Regions from separate parts of the Homo sapiens genome. Here regions 1, 2, 3, 4, 5 and 6 are each linked to region 7. Evidence: promoter capture Hi-C in 16 types of primary human blood cells and fetal thymus (Javierre and others, 2016). All regions are on one chromosome and are shown on one strand. Each heading gives the region's core, a stretch centred on a gene start or on the middle of the fragment in contact. The rest is flanking DNA. Distances are from core to core; before and after follow the strand shown.

Region 1 (3,292 bases), core at 110-2,609, 1.8 Mb before region 7:
ATTGCTAGATGTCCCCGGGAGGCAAAATTGTCCTGGTTGAGAACCACTGTGTTAGAACTCGGTCACATGGCCATACCTAACTGCAAGGGAGGGGGCTGGAAGATCTAGACGAGTAGTATGCCAGGAAGAAAATAGAACTGATTTAGAGGCTGCTGGCCAGTCACTTTCAGTGACCTTCAGCATACTTATTCCTCTGCAGCTGTCAGGACACTCATGCCTGTTTCTGAGATGTTTCCTGTGTGAGGGGACATAGTGACTATTGGAGGGGTGACATGTTGGACTTGGGTAGGGTGAAGAGGATTGGAAACCACCATCATGTTTGGCAGCATTGAATGTTTATGACTATTTGAATAGTTGTGACAAGGGTACAGTGAAGGAGGAAGTAACCATTTTTGAATACCCTTTTACAATTTGCAAAGCACTTTTAAAGGTAAGAGTGAGTTCCTAGACCATATTAGGGTGAGAATGGACATTGTTGGCTGCCATATCATTGGGCAGGGGCTTTGAGATTTTTGTCTTCAGAAGGCAGATTAGATTTGGAGTAGAAGGAGAAATGTAAAGACCTGGTATCTGAGTGTGTTTGCAGAGGGGAATTGTCGTTTGGAAGCACAAGAAAGGGAATGGCCCGTTGGCACATATGGTACATTGTGTTTTCATATAATTATACCTGAATGAAAGCAAGAGGAAACGTGTAGGAAGCTGTTTACATAGTCCTTTTAATAATGTTTACATGAGTTAATGAACATGCAAACGTATCTGATGAAAACATGTCAGTAGTGAAACAGCCTTGTGAAGAATCAGATCTTACCTCAGGCTGGAAAAAAGGACTGGTTTTCCAAGCTCACAAATTGCAGCCAGTGTGAATAGTAGCACAAATGACTGAGCTTTAAGACATCCATCCATCCATCTATCCATCCCCTCATCCATCCATCCCCTCATCCATCCACCCATCCATCCATCCCTTCATCCATCACTCCATCCAGCCATCCGTCCCTTCATCAATCCATCCATCCCTTCATCCATCCATCCATCCTTCCTTCCATTCATCCCTTCATCCATCCGTCCATCCATCCATCCATCCACTCATTCATCCCTTCATCCATCCATCCATCCATCCTTCCTTCCTTCCATTCATCCCTTCATCCATCCGTCCATCCATCCATCCACCCATTCATCCATCCATTCCTTCATCAACTCATCCCTTCATCCATCGTCTACCATTCATTCACCCCTTCATCCATCCATTCATTTATCCATCCGTCCATTTACTTCCATCCATCCCTTTATCCATCCATTCACCCATTCATCCCTTTATCCATATGTCCATTCCTCCATCCATCCATCCATCCATTTACTCTTCATCCCTTCATCCATTTTTCCATCCATTCATCCATTCATCTTTTCATCCATCCATCCATTGATCTATCCATCCATCCATTGCTCCATCCAACCATCCATCCATCCCTTCGTCCCTTCATCCATCCATCCATTCATCCCATCATCCATTGATCACTTCATCCATCCATCCTTCCATCCTTCCATCCATTCTTCCATTCATCCATCCATGTGTTCAGCAAGTATTTACTGAATGCCTATTATGTGCCAAGCACTCTCCTCAGAACTTAGGAAATACCAGGAAACAAAATCAACAACAATCCCTCACCACCTGGATATTACATTTTGGTGGGAAGAGACAAAGAAATAAAATTGGTGAGTGAATCACATAGGTTATTAGAAGGTGATAAAGGTGTAGGTGATAAAGGAGAAGTGCCAGGAGCAAGGATTGGGTACAGTTGTGAATAAGGTGGCCCCAATAGGTTGCACTGAGAAGGTGACATTTGCACAGAGACTTGAAGAAAGGAAGGAGAGAACATGACTGTACCTGGGTAACAGCATTTGTGGAAGAGGGAACAGCCAGTGTAAAAGTTCCAAGGCATGAGTGCCTGGTACATACATGGAACATCGAGGCCAGGGTGGCAGAAACGCGGTGAGTCCAGGAAGGGAATAGGAACTAAGTGTAGGAAGGTGTACAGTGGGGTGGTGTGGGGGTGGAATTGTGGCAGCCAGATGGTGTTGGCCTAAGGCCTCTTGGCCCTTGTTAGGACTTGGTTTACCATGGCGCAACACATCCATGAGATTGGCAAAAATTAAAAAGTCTGACAACAGAAAATCTGGTAATCTGGTGAGGATGTGGAGCAGTGGGAATTCTCCAATACTGCCAGGGAGCATGGGCATCAATCCCACCACACTGGAATGCAAAGGGGCATTCTGAGTAGAACTGAAGATGTGCCCATCCTTGACCCCACAGTTCCAGCCATGGGCATGCGCATGAATGTGCACACGTGTTGACTGCGGCATTTGTTTGTCATTATGAAAACATCTAAGTTTCCATCTATGGGAGAGGGGATAATGTGGGAGTGCCCAACAGTGGAGTTCTAGAGAGCAGTAAAAATAAATGGACTAGAGCTGCACACGTCAAAATGGATGAAGATAAAAGACATAAGGATGGAAGAAGACCACCTGGCCACAGAAGTATATGTCCAATATGATGCTGGTGTATCCAGAGTGTTCAAACAAACAACACAACACTACTCATTGTTTCCAACGTGAGTATGAAAGTATGGAGCAGTGCGGAGGGCCAGGAGTGCTGAATCCACATGGTTACTTCTCCAGGCGGGGGCCGAGGACCAGGGCTGGAGGTTTACTCCAGGAGCTTCAGTGGTGCATGCTGAATGTGCTGTTTCTTGGGCTGGGGGACAGAGATGTGCATGCTGTTATACACTCTATATTGAAATGATTGTATAACAATATACTAATTTATCATGTAATAAATTTGACCAGAAAGAAACAACTGTTCTGTGGCTGCTTCCATGACTGGATTTCACGTTGTAGGTTTCTAAGCAGAGAGTCCAAGGAAAACCAAAGGAGCGGCGGAAGGATAAGCCTCCCGGGTGTTCTGGGAGTGTCCCTTTGCTTGGGCTCCTCCGTTAGAGTTGAGAAAACCTGGGACTTGTGACTACTGGAGTCAACCTGGGATCCTGGCACCAAATGCCAGCAGAAACAATCCTGCCCCCCTCGGAAGATGAGATGAGGTTCTTTATGGAACATGAGTGCAGTTCGAGAGCTTCAGGTAGAAAGCCCAGTCGTCCTTACCCTGCGTGGCCCATCCAGGATCACGAATGGGGTCAGCCTCAGGGAGCTATGAGCCTGGTGTCTGAGACACAGCTTGGGCCTTTGTACTGCTGGAAGCACAGGGAACCCTGAGGGTTGATCAACTCCCCAGCAAAGACAA
Region 2 (2,979 bases), core at 273-2,772, 1.6 Mb before region 7:
AGAACATATACCGCTAGACTTAGTGGCACAGAACAATCACAACTTGATTCTGCTCGTGAACTCTGAAGTCTGGGAATTTAGGCAGAATGGGGATTATCTGGCTCTGCTCTACCATGTCTGGGGCCTCAGCTAGGAAGACTTGAGTGGCTGGGGTGGTGTGAACAGTGGGGGACTGGGATCATCTAAGGGTTTTTCACTGACGTGTTTGGGTACCTGGGCTGGGATGACTCAAAAGTTGGGCTCAGCTGGGAACAGTCCTTGGAGTGCCTAACTTGGCATCTATATGGCTTGGGCTTCCTCACAGTATGGAGGCCTCAGGGTGGTCTGAATTGTTCATGAAAGCTTAGGACACCAAGAGCTAGTGTTGCAACAGAACAGGGAAGAACCTGCATGGCCTTTTGTGACCTCACCATGGAAGTCAGACATGTCACTTCCATTGGTGGACGGTCACATGTCCACCCAGATTCAAACAGAGGGGACATAAACCTCACTTCTCAATGGGAGAAATGTCAAATAATTTGTGGATATGTTTTAAAGCTGCTTCAGCCTCCCTTATCACATATTAAATTTCCATTTATAATGGATCTGTTTCTAGACTCTAACATGTCCCAGTGGTCTATTTGTTTAACCCCGCTCCAACATCACCTGCCATCCTACAGACTTTTCTTCTCGGTTATGACAATATTTTAAAATTTCTAAAATAAAACTTTGGTTAGAAAGTAATATTACCTGTAAGCAATGATTTTTTTTGTGTGTCCATTGGGGGTTCATGGAGTTTTTAGGGTGGGTACACATGATATTATGCGCTGACATCTTGTAATTATATCTCTACTTCTTAGAGGAGAATTTCAGCACCTGTTGAGTTCATCTACCTCACCCCTGACCATTTTATAGGGCAAAGAAGCCCATGCAAAGACATTAAGTGGTTTGGCCATGGTCCCTAGCATGTTGGAGGCAGGGCTGGCCCCGGAACCCAGGTCTCCTGACTGCAGCATGGTGCCCTGCCTATCAGGCTGGCTGGATTCTTCACACCCCAGCCTTCGTTGGTTACATTGTGCTCACTATTGATGGTTGCCTGTGGCCGTTGACAAGGGTTTTGGTTACCTGTATGTATGATGCTGACAGTAAACTGTGGAGCAAACGCGCCTCCTGCACGGTGAGACAGCCCCCAGGTAGAAACGGCGTCTTGGCTGGTGCCCCACACTGCACGGTTACTTCAACCTTCATGCACTGAGCACTGCACCAACTGCCAGAAGAATGTATTGGCCATTTTCATCATTTCTACACTGGATGCTGGGTTTGGGATTTAGAGATCAGCTGTGGAGTAGGCTGACCTCTTACCAATGCCCTGGGAAAATGCGGTTCAAATTAATCGTCATTCCCTGGGCTGTTGGGAGCTGCTTGCAGGGAATATCTCCCTGGAGGTCTCTTTTTTGCTTTGCCCTGAACTTTAAGACCCTCAGAACTTTCTGTAAGAGGCTGGCCTTTTAGAGCTGAGAGGGACTTCTGTAACCTAAACTAGGTTAACCAGACTTGGATATTTGGCAGACATTTTCTTGAAAATAAATGAAGTAAGCCTGTGGCTTCAGGAAAAATAACTGATAGTATCTGTTGCCATACAATTAGACCTTTCGTGTGAAAATTAAAATTTTAGAAAACTTGTATCCATTGCTGTGAGCTTGATAGCTTCCTAACACCTCCGGACTTTTCTGATGGAATTCATGATCATATTAATGCACTGGCTGTGTAATGAAATGTGTTGACGTTTGATAGATCACACGTCAGTGAATCAATATTTGCCAAATGACCAATACATTTATTGCAAAATCATGAGTGGGTAAACAAATGATCTATTCAAAGTGCAGGATAGCTAATAGATTTTAATGTAGTCATATAAAAAAAATAGGTGAGATGGGTTCTCATTCAACAGTGCAGCTAACCTATGAGAAACTATCATGATTTGAATTTTGGTATAGTATGGAAGAGGAATAGCCACAATTGTCTGAAAAGTCTATTACAGACATGTCCCTCTTTTCTAGCTACATATTTGTTTCGGGCTGAATTTTCTTCACATGCCTCAGCTAAAGTGATCTAATGGCCCAGGCTGAGGGCAGAAGCAGATCTGACAACCTGGCTGTTTTCTAAGTCAGACACCCAGGAGCTTTGAACAGGCATAAATTATTGCCATTCTTCTCACTGATATTTTTGTTTTGAAAAGTATAGTGGCTGGGGCACGGTGGCTCACGCTTGTAATCCCAGCACTTTGGGAGGCCGAGGCAGATGGATTACTTGAGGTCAGTAGTTCGAGACCAGCCTGGCCAACATGATGAAACCCTGTCTTTACTAAAAACACAAAAATTAGCTGGGCATGGTTGTGGGCGCCTGTAACCCCAGCTACTGGAGAGGCTGAGGCAGGAGAATCGCTTGAAACCGTGAGGCAGAGGTTGCAGTGAGCTGACATTGGGCCACTGCCACTCCAGCCTGGGTGACAGAGCAAGACTCTGTCTCAAAAAAAAAAAAAAAAAAAAAAAAAGAAAGAAAGAAAATGTAGTTATTTTTCTTAAAATATGAAATTTATGTTTACATGTCATGAATTATTGTTATTTTTGATACAAGTTGATACATATTTTAAAATTTTCTCAGTTTTAATTTGTAAAACAGCAAATGCCATCAAATCTAAACTCACATGAACAAAAGCTTTTGAGGATGCTGAATAATTTTTAAGAGGGCAAAGTGGTCCTGAGGCCAAAAAATCTGAGAGAGGCTGCTTTTCAGAAAAACCTACCTTAGTTTAAACAGTTAAGAGACCTCTGCACAGGCACCTGGTTGGTGAGGCCTATGCCAGGTGCAAGGGCGGCCCCCCGGCTGTTACCTGTGAGCTTTCACCAGGTCTGACTTCTGCCTTTTAGGCAAATGACCTGGATCCTGTGGGGCATGACTCGGAGACCACTGGGCATGTCTCCTCTTCGGCGTGCTATT
Region 3 (2,900 bases), core at 333-2,832, 1.9 Mb before region 7:
TTGGTAACTCCATCCTCTGTGCTTACCTCCTTACTGCACTGTGCCTAGGACATGGTCAGGACTCAGAAAGGCTGTGCTAAATAACGCACATTTAACCTGTTTCCTTGTCTTCTCCCCTACTCTAAGGTTGGCTTCATCCTTATATCCTACTGATATGGTTTGGCTCTGTGACCCCACCCAAATCTCATCTCGAATTGTATTCCCCATAATCCCCACGTGTCAAGGGAGGGACTTGGTCGGGGGTGATTGGATCACGTCAGCGGTTTCCCCCGTGCTGTTCTCGTGATAGTGAGTGAATTCTCACGAGATCTGTTGGATGTAAAAGGGGCTTTTGACCCTTTTGCTGGGCACCTCTCTTCCTGCAGCCATGTGACGAAGGACGTGTTTGCTTCCCTTTCCGCCATGATTTTAAGTTTCCTGAGGCTTCTCCAGCCATGCAGAACTGTGAGTCAATTAAACCTCTTTTCTTTATAAATTACCCTGTCTCAGGTGGTTCTTTATAGCAGTGTGAAAACGGGCTAATACACCTACCATACTTCTAACCCCCAACGCCTGACCCACCCTGCCCTGTTTACAACAGTGGCTGGCCTTAGCAAGTCATTATCGAAGAAATCACACCATTTAGGACTCCACTGTACACGTTGGGGTGTTCGCTCCTTGTTTCATGAGGGGCACACCAACTTCCGTTTTTGTTTGTTTGTTTGTTTGTTTGGAGATAGGATCTTGCCCTGTTGCCCTGGCTGAAGTGCAGTGGTGTGATCTCAGCTCACTGCAGCCTCGAACTCCTGGGCTCAAGTGATCCTCTCACCTCTGTCTCCTAAGTGGCTGGGACTACAGGTGTGCAACACCACGCCTGGCTAAGTTTTGTATTTTTGTATTTTTTTTTTTTTTTTTTTTTTTTGTAGAGAAGAGGTCTCTCCATGTTGCCCAGGCTGGTTTCAAACTCCTGAGCTCAAGTGATCCTCCGTCTTGGCCTCCCAAAATGCTGGGATTACAGGAGTGAGCCATTGTCCCCACCCCGCACCAACTTCTGATGAAGTCAGGCTCCTTATTGGCTTTTTCCTGAGTTGCCAGGTTGACACATTGGTGGGTGCTTTTCGATGGTTCGCAACCTACGCACGTCGTAATCATCCTTGGACCTTTTCAAAAATCAAGATTGACGCTTGTTGGCAGCAAGGCCTAGGAATGTGGAGGCTGAAGGAGGTGAGGGGAGGTGCTGGGAGACCTGGAAGGAGTGTGAACTACAGGCCCCGCGAAAGGCAGAGGTCTCGCTCCTGGATCCGGAAGAAGGCTGCTGAGCGGGCTTTCATTTCTTATGTATGTGCAGTTTCTTCTGAAGATATAATTGATGTTTATTTCTCTGAATAAGCTTGATTATAATGGAAAATAGGGATAATAAATTAACTGTAATAAGAGTGACATTGACACTGAAAAACCTTGCCTGGGGCGCTTGTCCTGGGTGTCCCCGCCCCGCGGCCCCTCCAGCCCCGCCTGCTCTACGCCCCGCCCCGCCCCTCCCCTCCACGCCCAGGGGGCGTGGCAACCCGGAGTCCCTCCCCTACCCAGGGCACGTGATCTGTCAGTTCGCGGAGAGGGAAGAATATGGCCGCCGGGTGTGGTGAGGGCGACGCGCTTGCAGTCGCCGTCTCTTGCTTCCCCGTCCTCTGACATCGCCTGCAGCCGAGCGGGCCCGTTCCGCCGGAGCTGAGGACCAGGTTGGGAGACCGTCAGTGTGGAGGCCGGTCCGCGAAGCTTTGCCGCGGGATTGGGGAGGAGTCGGGGGCGAGGCCGGGCTCGGGGAGTCGGGCGGGGAGGTGGGACAGCCGAGGAGTGCGCGGAAGGGGCGAGCTCGGACCGGGGGTCCCGGGGAGGGCATGGCGCGGGCCCCGGACGCTCGGGCCCCGGCTTTCGGGGCGAGTCCGCGTTTCCTGGAGCGCCGGGAAGGTCTCCGACCTTGGAGTCTCTGGTGGTCTGTCTCCTGAGGGGCCCCTCGGGTGGGTTGGGGTGAAGGGTGTTGGTAAAACCGTTTTTTTTCTTTTGCCAAGCAGCCTCTGGCACATCCACCACCTTGAGAGCCCCCTTAGCTGGTACCGCTAGTCTTTCTAGGTTCCTCCTCCTAGGCTTCCACGGGCCGGGAGGTGTTGTTTTCTCCCTTGCTTTTATCGTGGGCTCCATTGCTCCATTGTCCTGTGCAGGCTTTTAAACGCCTGGCAAAATAGTGCAAGCCATTGATTTCCACGCCTCCAAGATTTATTTATAGGGAAATAATTTCTTCATCACTTTGTAATGTTGGAATTTTTATTCTTTCAAGTTGACAGGTTTAAACCGATGAAAAATTTTTTTATGAATAACTATGCAGCCATCTCTGCTCCCTATGGGCGCTTGTTAAAAATGTAGATTTCTTAGCGTTTTAGAGATTCCCATTCCTTCGGCCTGAGGTGTGGCTCGGGAATCACCCCTTCAGGTTCGTTCCTGTCCACATTTTGACAACACTGAGGACCAGACATCTACACCTTTTTAAACCACCGTGGGGTATTGAGTGCAGAGCCCAGGTTGGGAAATGCCGTGGCCAGGTGTGTTCTTTGTTCTCTTCTAGCTTTACTAGCATGGACTACTTTCATCAGAATCATTTTGGGGTGCTTGTTAAAATGTCAGTTTCTGGGCACCACCCCAGATCTAGGGAATGGGATTCTCCCGGGGAGGAGCTCAAGGGATATGTGTATTTGACAAGCTTCCCAAATAATTTTGGTGCACACAAGTTTGAGAATCCTTGTTCTACACCCTTTGTGTGAATAATTTCCAGATCATTCACACACAGTGTGAACGGTATCTTTTTCCAAGTATTGGGTGGGTTTCTCCAACCTAGTTCTTTTGGGACACTTCAAATTCAGCCTGGCCAA
Region 4 (2,948 bases), core at 334-2,833, 1.7 Mb before region 7:
GAAAAATACATTTTAACCCGTAGAGTTGTTTCAGAGATGAAACGAAGTGACATATGAGGTATATTTGATATGACAGTCAACACCAGTTAAGGGTTTATCCTGTGCTGGTCACTATTGTAAGCTCTTCTAAGCACTGTGTGAACTCATTCATTCTCCTCTAATGACCCTTAGAGGTAGGTAACATTATTATTATCTCCATTCTTAACATTTTCTAAAAACAGTTATAGTGAGAGAAATTAACGTACTATACAATTTACCCATTGAAAGTGTACAATCCATTGCTTCTTGGCATATTTTTAAAAATTGTGGAAAAATATATAAAGCTTATCATTTTTATAATTTATATTTTATAATTCATATCAGAACCTGGCGATGTGAATTATATTCATAGGGTTGTGCAGCCGTCACCACTATCAACTTCCAGACCATTTTTATCCCTCCCAAGTAGAAACACTGCACCATGTTATGCCCATTCTACAGATGAGAAAACCGAGGCACAGAAAGATGAGGAAACTTGTTCAAGGTTATGCAACCAGTGTCTGGCAGAGCCCGTGTGTGAGCTCAGGTCATTTGGCTCAGAGCTGGTGCTCTTCACCTGCAGGAGGAGCTGGGTATTCTGTAGCCTCTAACTGAGAACCCATTCCGTGCCATGCTCTTTCCTTCGGCCATTGTAACAAGGCTGCAAGACAGACAACGATTGCTGTTCCCATTTTGCAGCTTAGGAAACCGAAGCTCAGGGAAGTTAGACAACTTTCTCAGGGTCACAGCCATGGTGAGCGGCAGAGCCAGCTTTTGACCCCGGGGTCTCACTGACCCCAGAGTTCACAGCAGAGTCGCAGAGCTTTCCTGGTGTCCAGCTTAGAGAGCACACAGTAGGTGCGCGGAGTGCGAGCTGAGCTGCCCTTCGAGATGCAGTTCCGAGGGAAGCCTAGGCCCGGGAGACCCCAGCGGGTCCTGCAGATAAAGGAAAGTTCTCCAGTCAGCCCCGGAGGAACGCTGATCCCGCTGATCCCGAGGCAGGGCCCGAGGTTCCTGTTCGGGGCCTCCCTGCTGTGAAGGAGTCCTGGACCCCCGAGAGGTCCATGGAATTCTGCAGGGGAAGGCCTGATATGGAGGCCTGTGGAAGTCACCGAGGAGCCCCTCTCATACCACCTCACACTTATTTCTTCAGGACTTCAAAGTGCCTCGCCGGGAGGAAACCATGGGGGTCTGCCTGAAGCTGTTAAAGTAGCCGGCAGGATTCGATGTGTGCCCTGATTGCCAGGGTAGGGGCGGGGGGTGTAAAAGAGAGAAAGATTATACACAGGCCTAGGAATGATGAAAGGTCTTAAGCAATGAGGGGGACTTGAAAAGAGGCGACCAACAGGTCGGCTGGTATGCCTGGAGACGGGAGGCGGTGCGTGTGGAGAGTAGCAAGCTGTGCGGAATGAGGCTGGGAAGGTGAGCCTGGAGGCCCTCCCTGAGGCTGGATTGTGGGAGGAGCGGTGGGCAGGACCTTGAACATGACCCTGCGAGGCGGGCCGGGAGGGGGCGTGGCATGCTGCGGCAGTGGGCGGGCTTTGGCTGGGGCTGGGCATAGTCACGGCAGTGGGCGAGGTGTCGCCTGGCCCCGCCCCGTGGGTCCCACCCCCGGGGTGCACCCCCCTCCCTGGAGCTCTGGCTGCGTGCTGGCTCCCAGAAGAGGAACCTGCTGCAGGCGCCGGCGCGGGCGGCGAGGACGACCTGTTTTTCTGACCCAGCCCGGAAGCGCTGGTGCAGGTGGTCTCTGAATGAGGGTTCCTCTTTGCCTCTGATGTCTGGAAGGGGAATTCAGCAAGAGGGACTCCAGTCTGGAGCTCTGACCCCAACTTCCTCAATCCAGGCCCTCAAAGAGGGCGGCCTGTGTCACCGGGCGCCGGATTCCCCGGGGGGTGCCCGGGGTTGGGGCGGCACATTCCCACCTGGAGTGCCCTCATGCCTGGCTATGCCGGACCTGCAGGGTCACACCCTCTCTCTGGACCTTTCCCTCCCCTGCACCCCCGCCCACGCCCCAGGCCCTCTGCTGCTTAAGCCATGGCCCTGGGTCTGTATCCTGACCTGGGCTGGTCATTGTTCTGCATTGGGTAGTTTAATTACAACTTTCTCTGCGCTTATCTGGTCTATGAGCTCGTGATCGCAGGGACCCTAGCACAGGGTCTGGGACTTACTGAGAGATCAGTAAATGTTCATGGATGGTGGACATGGGTGTGTAGGATGCCGGTCTCCTCCCCTGAGAAGGGGCTTGGGCAGAGGAGTCCCTAGTTCGCCAGGAGCAGCCTCGCCCCACCTGACCAGGCCTGGGACAAACCAACAGGTTGCTGTCCTGGAAGGAAAGGGGTGCCTCCTTCCACCTGGGGAGGCTGAGCTGCTTCTCTCCTCTTAGGCCCTGTGCTGCAAGGCGCCCATACCTCCAGTCCGCACCTCAGGAGTCCTTCCCGTGTCCTCTGGGAGTTCCTGCCCATGCTGGCTGAGGCCCCAGGTCTGCCTGGGAGCAGTCCCACAGAGGGAAGGTGGTGGAGGAAGGGGCAGGGATGCTGGCTGAGGAAAGGCCCTCTTTCCTACGATGGCTGTACCCAGGAAGCCGGCCGCAGGTTCCCTAAGCCGAGGCAGCGCTGGCTGTAGTTTCTCTGGGCTCCTGGGCTGGTGCACCTGCCCCTGCCTTCAGAACGGGCCCCTGTGCATGGCTGGCATCTGTGATTGGGGGTAGTGCGTGTTTCTGAGTAATGTGAAAAGAGCAGCTTCTTTGACTTCACCATTCCTAGAAAATGGCCTCAACTTGCTGGAAGAGTGGGGACAGAGGGTCTCAGTTTCTCATGTGAAGCTTGCAGGCCATTGTCTTCAGCACCCAGCATGTTTTGGGGCCTTTGAGGGACTTGAGGGGCTTTTTGAGGAACTCTGGGCATGGGGTTTTAGCCGAGGCTGAAAGTGGA
Region 5 (2,890 bases), core at 217-2,716, 1.8 Mb before region 7:
AAGAGGCCGCCTGCCGGTTCTTCATGCTTTCACCTGCCTTAACTCTCATCAGGCTCCTCAAAGCCTTCGAGGCCTTGACCTTCAGCATTCATCCTTATAGGGCTTGCATTGCCCAGGTTTAGCAAGAATCCTGTTAAGTCAGTTTACATGTGTGATCACCCTCAGTATTTGATCAAACGCCTCACTAACCCCCCCACCCCCAGGTGATGTCGGCTCACCCTGGCCATCGGCGTACCAAGAGTCCCCCACTCCTGCTGCCTCCCCTTAGTAATGTTCCATCCACGACCCCCACCCTGCCCCTTGGTGGTAGATCCCCACTCATTCGTGCTTATTCCGAGTTGGACTCCCTTCTGTAGTGAGACTGCTTACCCCTGTTGCCATAGTTCTGAATAAAATCTGGACCTACCGCCCTACTCCTGGCCAGCTCTGGTTTTGACACAAGCCAGCTGCATTTTTCTTTGTCCTCAAGTTAAGTTTTAAACAGAAGTAATAATTTAATGGACAAATTGCAGTGTAGTATATGTATGGTGGTTTCTACCATTGCTTCCTTTAGTATTAATGAACATGAAAGATAAGCTGATGTATAAAACAAATTCACTAGAAATTCACTTACCAGAAGTATGCTTTCTCATTGCTGTTGCAATAGCTTTATAATGTTTGGTATTTCTAAATATTTCTAAAGCTTCTAAAATATGATTTGTTAGTGTAAATATTTATGTTTTTCTTCTGTTAAGGTACTAGAAATGAGAAACGCAGAAAGCCACGTGGTCCCTGAAGACCCACGTTTCCTCAGTGAGAGCAGCAGTGGCCCAGCCCCGCACGGTGAGCCTGCTCGCCGCGCTTCCCACAACGAGCTGCCTCACACCGAGCTCTCCAGCCAGACGCCCTACACACTCAACTTCAGCTTCGAAGAGCTGAACACGCTTGGCCTGGATGAAGGTGCCCCTCGTCACAGTAATCTAAGTTGGCAGGTATTTATTGAATGGCATTTTTCATATTATTGAAGAATAAGCACACCGTTCAGTTCACTGAGATTATATGGGCATTTAGACAGTCATTCAGAAAATGCTTACTGAATACCTAAGTGAACAGGAGACAAGATGGAGGGCTCCCTGTACTCAAGGAGCTGCATCCATGTGGAGAGGGGCAGTCAGTGAAACAAACAAAAAAGTAGCTCATGTAGACATTGATGAGAGCTGAGATATCCATCAGGGTCACAGCATGCAGAGTCAATAGGGATTAGGCCACTTGAGCTAGGGTGGTCAGCAAATTCAGCCTTTCTCAGGCGATCTTCCTGTTGCATTCAGTAACTGTTGGTTGAAGTACATCTTCATTGGAACACTGGCCACATAGTGTCCCTTTGAGCACCATCCTTTGGTTTTCCAGGACGCCTGCACACCCTTCACGGATATTGGTTTCTTCTGGTCTGGCATTAGATGTAGGCGCGTTCTTCCTTTGGAGATTCTTAGAAGAAGGAGGCCAGGTGAGGGGTAGGGGTAGGGGCAGGGACAGAGCAAAGTGAGAGATGCAGGAGGAGTAGCGGGAGTGAGGAGAGCGCAGGAGGAAAAGCAGAGCAGGGTGTGGAGAACAACGGGGGAGGAGGCACAGCGGGCGGCAGCGAGTAACACTGAGTGGGCAGGGCAGGGCAGCGGTGAGGAGGAGCAGCGCCTTGGGGAAGGAAGAAAATGTCCTATTTCCTTGAGAAGGTCCCCAACAAATTCACTTTGCTCCTTCTTTTTTGTTTTAGCCTTTGCTCTTGACCCTTCTTAAACTTTCTTGATTCTTCTCCTTCTTTTTCCTCATCTGTACTTTTTGCTCCTTGTTTCTTAGCTATTCTGGGATCTGAAGCAAATTCTAATTCTAAAACTTAATATTGGAAATAAACTTGTAAAACTACTTTATTTTTCTGTTTACTAAGGCCCAACTATTGGCCTCATTGCATTTTATATTTTATCAATGAAGTTGACTTTGGCCTTAAATAAAAGCTAAACGTTTGAAGTTATAAAAACAAGTGCTGTGGCCGAGCATGTGGGACATGCCCATAGTCCCAGCTGCTCAGGAGGCTGAGGCGGGAGGATTGCTTGAGTCCAGTAGTTTGAATCTAGCCTGGGCAACACAGCAAGATCCTGTCTCTTAAAAATGAAATAAAAACCAGAAACAAGTGCTAAGATTATTTGTTAATACAGTGTTTAATCATACTTTTAAATATTAACAATAAACTGATTTTATTAAAATTTATAGAAAGCTTTCTAGTAACAGCATTATAAGGTCACAGCTTTTGTTAATCTGTGTTATGTAGAATTCTTTTAAAAGAATTTGATGTTTTGATGACTTTTTAAATGGTTAGTGTACATATATATTTCCTAAGCTGATGTTTATGCCTTTTTTCTTCTTATTTGAATTTTTAAATTATTTTTTTTCTGTCTTCACAGTCACAAACTCGCAGAACCCCAAGTCTTTCGAGTCTCAATTCCCAGGATTCCAGTATTGAAATTTCAAAGCTTACTGATAAGGTGCAGGCCGAGTATAGAGATGCCTATAGAGAATACATTGCTCAGATGTCCCAGTTAGAAGGGGGCCCCGGGTCTACAACCATTAGTGGCAGATCTTCTCCACATAGCACATATTACATGGGTCAGAGTTCATCAGGGGGCTCTATTCATTCAAACCTAGAGCAAGAAAAGGGGAAGGATAGTGAACCAAAGCCCGATGATGGGAGGAAGTCCTTTCTAATGAAGAGGGGAGATGTTATCGATTATTCATCATCAGGGGTTTCCACCAACGATGCTTCCCCCCTGGATCCTATCACTGAAGAAGATGAAAAATCAGATCAGTCAGGCAGTAAGCTTCTCCCAGGCAAGAAATCTTCCGAAAGGTCAAGCCTCTTCCA
Region 6 (3,172 bases), core at 596-3,095, 1.8 Mb before region 7:
TGGAGTTGTTCACATTTCTTATAATTATTTGAAGTGTTCTCTGCTTCTCTGACTAGGTGAAAGTCATGTCATGCAATTTTTAAATCATTTTTACAGTCTTTGCTCAGGCTTCTAGGCTGTTGTGTAGTGTACTGGTTTGCATAATTTTGTAAACAAAAAAGTGCTGATCTGGATTCTGAAAAAATGATGAAGGAAATTAAATATGTGCATGAAGATGGAGGAGAAGCTTTATTTCAGTCTGCAAAAAACTGAAACTAAAAGAAAAACCCAGGATGACTTATGAGCACAGCTTATTTGTTGATCTTCTTCAATTTGTTAAAATGTAATATGTAACAGCATTCTTTTCTATTATAGTTTTAAGGAGTTAAAAACGTGTAAGTCATTACCTGAGGGATTTTGAGCCATGTCTGTGGCTCCTGTTTGAACTGGTGCAGTGAGCAGTCAGCAGCTTTTGAAGCAGTCAGGAGCAGGTACCCGCTCTGCTGCTATGTCTGTGGTGGTGTTGCATCCATTGCTTACCTCTCTGAGCCTCAGTTTCCTCATGTTAAAAATGGAAATAATAAATACCTTATGGGATGCAGAGAGAGAAGTTAGATAAACTAGGTAAAGCACCTGCCTCAGAGAATGGCAGACAGTAGGTATTCAGCCACTTCGTTCTTCTTAAAATTCCCTCTCAATTCTTCATAACTTTTAAATATAGTTTCCCTGTTAGAGTTTATATAAGAAGAGGGATACAGAGCCCCTAAATGTACCTTCCTCAGAACATTCGACGTCGTAGACATGAATGAAGACAGTGCCTTACCAGTATTGTACTTGAACCTAGGCAGATACCCCTTTTGAGTTTTTATCTTTTACCCTCCCTGGTTGTTGATTGTTTTTTCATCCATCTAGTTGCCAGAATTGCAGCCTTAAAGCCAAAGAGAGTTTTTGTATATGATGACATTCTACTGAGTTTAAGGGTTTTTTTAATCCTTTAAATTACATGCGTACAAGTTTCCTTCCTTCATATAAAAACATAATCTTGGGCCCTGATGTTCTGGCCAAATAGGTCATCTTGGAGATATACACCCTCGGTGGGAAATAGTTTTTGTTTAATGTCGAGTAAACTCTTCTAGTAAGTGAAATAATAACTTTGTTTAGCTCTGCCAATGGTTTCCAGGGCAGCTTATACAAGTGCTTTTATGGTTTGCACTATTTAACCCTAATCACACCGTCCTTAAACACATAAGTCAAACACATTAGATACTTGCAAATGTCTTCTTTTAAACCAGAAATAGACAAACACACTTGAAGAAGGCATGCCATGATGATCTATTTGGCCTGCAGAATATATAAGCACTTCGTTGTTTCCTAGTGTAGTTACTCAATAAGATGCCTAAAATGCAAACTTACTTTTGTAGACCTTGAAAAGTGAGTGTCAGTGAGAACACCTGGCACTGTTCGCATTGTTGTCTTGAGAATATTCTGTGACCACCACACGAGCATAGATGCCTCTTTTCTCTTCTGGCAAGTTCTTTTCTCTGTTGAGAGTTGTTGTGTACTTAATGCAGTCTTCTGCATGTGGACAGCTTCAGCTCTTAGTACTTTTATTACTTTGGCTGTGGCAGACAAAGTGTCTACTTTCTGACCCCCTAAGCTAATGTTCTTTCCAACATGGTAGGAAAGGTGACTCATGGAATAGTTATGAAAATACTTTTACAAGAATATTAGGAATGATTAAAACTTATGGGATGCAGCAAAGGCAGTACTCAGAGGGAAATTTATGGCTGTAAATGCGTACATTAAAAAAAGAGAAAGATATTAAATTAACACCCTAACCTAACACCTCGAGGAGCTAGAAAAAGAAGAGCAAATTAAACTCCAAGCTAGCAGAAGGAAGGAAATAATAAAGGTTAGAGTGGAGAGACATAAAACAGAGAACAGAATAACAATAGAAAAAAAGCAATGAAACCAGAAGTATTTTCCTTGAAAATACCAGCAAATTGACAGATCCAGTGTGGAAGTCCAGGCTCAGAGGCAGATCCAAAGGCCAAGGTGAGCAGAGGTGCCTCGAGTTGGAGTTGCTGCTGAGACCAGGATCTGTTCCTGAGGATTGGTGAGGGTGAACAGGGCTTAATCATGGTAGATTTTTCTCAAGTATTTTTTCCAGTGTGTTTGGAACCTGGGAAGTGAGGATTTTAATTTGGGGATTACATAGACAGGAAAAACCACAATTTTATGCAGATTACAGGTTGGAAAAGTCATTACTAACATTCCTATCATCAGATTTAATGTTGAGACGGCAACTTATAAAAGCCATACAGGGCTGGGCGCAGTGGCTCACGCCTGTAATCCCAGTACTTTAGCAGGCCGATGCAGGCAGATCACCTGAGGTCAGGAGTTCGAGACCAGCCTGGCCAGCATGGTGAAACCTCGTCTCTACTAAAAATACAAAAATTAGCCAGGCGTGGTGGCTGGTGCCTGCACTCCCAGCTACTCAGGAGGCTGAGGCAGGAGAATTGCTTGATCCCAGGAGGCAGGGGTTGCAGTGAGCCGAGATTGCACCACTGCACTCCAGCCTGGGCAACAAGAGTGAAACTCCATCTTAAAAACAAAACCAACAAAGAAAACATACAGAATTCCAAGTCCAGGATTTAGGAGGACAGAGCCATACTGAAGATGTTATTATTCAAACACAGATGCTGTGGAGCAGACAGTTGTGACCGAGACCGAATTGGCATTTCCAAGTCAGTGTTAGTTGCCATGTTGATGGAGAGCTGAGAAAAGCCATTTTAATGGCATTTGCAAATAAGCAGGACATGGAACAGGCCATGACTCCCTCAGAGATGCACATTCACTTGGGTTATCTGCCTCGAAGGACTGAAAATGGCAAATATTCAAAACTTCAGCAACCAGAGGTACTGGCCTTCATGAGACAACGGAATGGGTAGTTGAAACATTAAAGAGCAAACAACAGTACAGTCACTTCTGCTCCTCTGAAATGAAGACGGCCTCACATATCCCTTTGGAAACAATCAAGTGTGCTTCTCATGACTAAAGGTTAAAGCTGTAAGACTGTTGGCATTTACTGAACTGACTGTGACATTAGTAATAAATATAAAAAATAGATATTTAGTTGAAAGGGTAATTCATCTTGATTGAGCCAATTGTGTTCTATGTTGTAGGACATGCT
Region 7 (3,030 bases), core at 1-2,500:
CTCCCGAGTAGCTGGGACTACAGGCGCCCGCCACTGCGCCCGGCTAATTTTTTGTATTTTTAGTAGAGAGGGGGTTTCACCGTGGTCTCGATCTCCTGACCTCGTGATCCGCCCGCCTCAGCCTCCCAAAGTGCTGGGATTACAGGCGTGAGCCACCGCGCCCGGCCAGTTCAATGGATTTTAAAAATTATTATTCTCTAGAAAAAAGACCACGAACTTTGGAGTGGACATCCTGAGACCTGCCTACGAAGACCATTAGGGTAAAGAAGTCACCCCTTCACCCCAGGACCAGGAAGCCTCCAGGATGGCATAAGCGACCAAACAGCTGGGAGCCAAGCACAGTGCAGGGGGCTTGGGGTCGGCGGCCGGAGGCTGGGGTGGGTAAGACCCGCAGGGAACTCCGGGGCTCGGGCGGCGGCTCATTCCCCGGGAAAGGGCTCGCGGTGGGGACCAGGGGCAGTAGCAGCCGCGGACCCCGCGCGCAGGGGATGTGCGGGGCATCCTCTTGGCCAGTTCCGACCTTCCCCGCCGGTGGCGATGCCCCGGACGCGTCGTCCTTTCCCAGACCTCCTCTTGGGGCCGAGGCTCCAGCCCCAGGGTCTGCGGGCGGGGCCGCGAACCTTGAAAGCCCCCGCCGCCAGCTCGCCCGCGGGACCCTGGCCCGGGGCGCCCTGTCCCGCGCCGCAGCGCAGACCCGCGACCGCGCAGGGCAGGCAGGGGGACGCCAGGTCCCTAAGCGCCCACTGCCCTGGGGCGCGGGCGCCGCCTGCGAGAGGCAGGGCAGGGCAGGAGCAGAGCAGGGACGAGGTCAGGGACACGGGCAGGGCAGGGCGGGCGTCCTCTGAACGGAGCCCGCGAGTCCCCGCCCGGGACGCTGCCCCCCGCCCGCTGCCACCGGGCGCCGGGGCAGGACCCAGCGGGGCAGGCGCGGCCGCAAGCCCCGAGCCCCAAGGCCGGCCGCGCAGCGCCGCGTCCCGCCCTCCCCGCTCCGCGGCCGGCCCGGGCGATGCGGACACAAAGGGGACGCGCGTCACTCTACCTGGGCCTGCTCGTCCGCGGTGCGCGGCTCTGACGCCTCCGCCCGGTACTGGCTGCGGGGTGCCGGGTGCCCGCAGTTTGCCGCCCGCGCCTCCCCGCGCCCGCGCAGCCCGCACGGCCCGCACTGCAATGCCAGCCCTGCCGCCTCCCGCCTGCCGAGAGCCCGCGCGGGGAGAAGCGGCTGCGCGGGCGGGGCGCGAGCGCGCACAGAGGCCGGGCACGCGGGAGGCTCGGCCCCGGCCCCGCCCCCGCGCCGAGCCGCACAGCGCCCCCTGCCGCCCGCCTGCGCCGGCCCGAGGCCCGGAGCCGCCCCGCAGGCCCCAGGACAGGCTCCGGCACGAGGAGGGGCTGCGGAGACCGCCCGTGCACGCTAACATGAAAATGCTATTCCTGCTTTAGTGGCCTCCAGAAGACACTCCCCTGATTCCTACACCGAGGGAACACACAGCAGCAAGCTAGGAAAGAAGGGGTGACCCAGCCCAACGCTGTAAACCAGGGCGCGAACCGGCGTTGAGCTGTGCAGCTGCGCCCTGGGCTCCAGTCCTGCTCTGCCGCAGACCCCACCGGAGCCAGCACCTGCCTCCCCGACCCTCGCTGGGGCGGCTGTGAGATGAGCCCAGAGCCTTCCTGAGCCAACCCTCGCAAGGAAAGTCTGTCTGTTCACCCCACTATCCTTGTCTTGAAGGATGAAGAAAAGAGGGCCCCCCGGGAGGTCCCAAAAGGTGGAATGGACATCTGGGATCCAAGCACAGCAATTTCTTTATTTTTCTTAAGGTATCCAGCTTGTTGGAATCTAAGATCTGCGAAGGTATTAATAGAATTCCTGCATCTTCTGCCACTCCCCATAGAAGCTTGAAGTTACACAAATGTTAAATTATACGTCAGATGTGCATATATGAACAAAACCTACGAGTGTGCATGAAATAACACCTTCTTAAATATATAGATTCTTTTTTCTGCAATATTAAATGGAAACCCCACTAGAACATCGTTTTTCCTTAATAGCATACCCTCCACACTGTGTGGTCTAAATTCAAGCTCTACCACCTACTAGCCATTAAGCAAGTTATTAAGGTCTTCGTGCTTCCATTTTCTTACGTGGAAAATGAGGTGGCAATAGTATGTATGAGTTCTTCGGAGGGATTAAACAAGTCAAATAGGCCAAGTGCCATGGCTTACACCTGTAAGCCCAGCACTTTGGGAGGCCAAGGCAGGAGGACTGCTTGAGCCCAGGAGGTCAAGGCTGAAGTGAGCTGTGTTTGCATCACTGCACTCCAGCCTGGGCAGCAGAGTGAGACTTTGTCTCTCAATAAATAAAGAAATAGTCAAATTAAATATAACTGGCAAACTAAAACAACTCCATAGTCCTTAGCTACAATTTGTCTCATTTCTCCAAAGAATTAAATCAGATGATTCTTAACTAACTCAAAGCTCTGCATAATTTGTCTTCTGCTACACATACATCTTTATAGTAAAATAAAATAAAGCTGTCCCCTCTGTATTGAGAAGTTATTCTGGTAAATATTTGACCTCTTCAAATATATGAACGAGCACTTGCCTTCTAATGCCTCAGTTTCAGATTCTTTTTAGAAATGTCATTATTCAAGAAAAATGCACAATGGGAAGAATCTTAACAACAGCACTTTGTTACTTCAGCCTCTCACTAGAGGATGAAAATCGTTCTGCATAAAGGCCTGGGCTTTATGAAAAATATATTCACACCTCCCGTGTCCGAGCTGGGATACCAAAGAAGTTCCTGGTTGAGTACTACTTATGAATGAAGGATTCAGGGGATGCACAGGTGGGTGACTGCAAATGCACAGACGTTGTGCTGTGTTCCCCACAATAAAGGGGTCTGTATTAAGATGCAGGCATTCTCATGGAACACAGACGTATAACACTCAAGCTGGGGGACTGCAAAGGAGCATCTGGGGCTGCAGGAAGAGAGTTAAGGTGCAAAAATGCCCTGACCCAACTGAGACTTGTAATTGC

What was found. Contacts are between HindIII fragments. The CHiCAGO score rates a contact against its expected background, and 5 or more counts as called.
Region 1: a fragment that was not itself captured here is called in contact with the fragment with the promoter of RNF144A in region 7 in 2 of 17 cell types (fetal thymus and naive CD8 T cells); the score reaches 6.6 in fetal thymus.
Region 2: a fragment that was not itself captured here is called in contact with the fragment with the promoter of RNF144A in region 7 in 1 of 17 cell types (erythroblasts); the score reaches 7.0 in erythroblasts.
Region 3: the fragment with the promoter of KIDINS220 here is called in contact with the fragment with the promoter of RNF144A in region 7 in 5 of 17 cell types (fetal thymus, non-activated CD4 T cells, total B cells and 2 more); the score reaches 11.2 in fetal thymus.
Region 4: a contact is called between a fragment that was not itself captured here and the fragment with the promoter of RNF144A in region 7, in 2 of 17 cell types (fetal thymus and erythroblasts). The highest score is 9.9, in fetal thymus.
Region 5: a fragment that was not itself captured here is called in contact with the fragment with the promoter of RNF144A in region 7 in 1 of 17 cell types (naive CD4 T cells); the score reaches 7.4 in naive CD4 T cells.
Region 6: a contact is called between a fragment that was not itself captured here and the fragment with the promoter of RNF144A in region 7, in 1 of 17 cell types (total CD4 T cells). The highest score is 6.2, in total CD4 T cells.

Annotation. Positions count from the first base shown.
Region 1 is chr2:8,666,195-8,669,486 of GRCh38, reverse strand. No RefSeq gene overlaps it. Among named protein-coding and RNA genes, the nearest start is that of ID2-AS1, 14 kb to the left of the region's middle. The HindIII fragment of the contact is 5,903 bases long and covers 1-3,292 here.
Region 2 is chr2:8,552,633-8,555,611 of GRCh38, reverse strand. No RefSeq gene overlaps it. Among named protein-coding and RNA genes, the nearest start is that of LINC01814, 30 kb to the left of the region's middle. The HindIII fragment of the contact is 2,355 bases long and covers 345-2,699 here.
Region 3 is chr2:8,836,295-8,839,194 of GRCh38, reverse strand. It overlaps KIDINS220 (kinase D interacting substrate 220), which reads left to right and starts at 1,582. Exons shown (of 30, transcript NM_020738.4): 1 at 1,582-1,715. RefSeq lists silencers at 1,406-1,455, 1,466-1,525. The HindIII fragment of the contact is 383 bases long and covers 1,372-1,754 here.
Region 4 is chr2:8,582,527-8,585,474 of GRCh38, reverse strand. LINC01814 (long intergenic non-protein coding RNA 1814) reads left to right here and starts at 1,683. Exons shown (of 6, transcript NR_110257.1): 1 at 1,683-1,758. RefSeq lists enhancers at 387-1,065, 1,066-1,745 and a silencer at 1,423-1,792. The HindIII fragment of the contact is 2,516 bases long and covers 326-2,841 here.
Region 5 is chr2:8,731,525-8,734,414 of GRCh38, reverse strand. KIDINS220 (kinase D interacting substrate 220) reads left to right here. Exons shown (of 30, transcript NM_020738.4): 29 at 735-971; 30 at 2,433-2,890. Among named protein-coding and RNA genes, the nearest start is that of ID2, 51 kb to the right of the region's middle. The HindIII fragment of the contact is 1,563 bases long and covers 685-2,247 here.
Region 6 is chr2:8,757,294-8,760,465 of GRCh38, reverse strand. All of the region lies in intron 22 of KIDINS220 (kinase D interacting substrate 220), which reads left to right. It also overlaps the pseudogene LOC100216337. Among named protein-coding and RNA genes, the nearest start is that of ID2, 77 kb to the right of the region's middle. The HindIII fragment of the contact is 3,233 bases long and covers 229-3,172 here.
Region 7 is chr2:6,915,632-6,918,661 of GRCh38, reverse strand. RNF144A (ring finger protein 144A) reads right to left here and starts at 1,250. Exons shown (of 9, transcript NM_014746.6): 1 at 1,040-1,250. GRASLND (glycosaminoglycan regulatory associated long non-coding RNA) reads left to right here. Exons shown (of 5, transcript NR_033997.1): 1 at 1-260; 2 at 1,438-1,812; 3 at 2,695-2,839. RefSeq lists a silencer at 921-1,410. The HindIII fragment of the contact is 2,406 bases long and covers 1-1,891 here.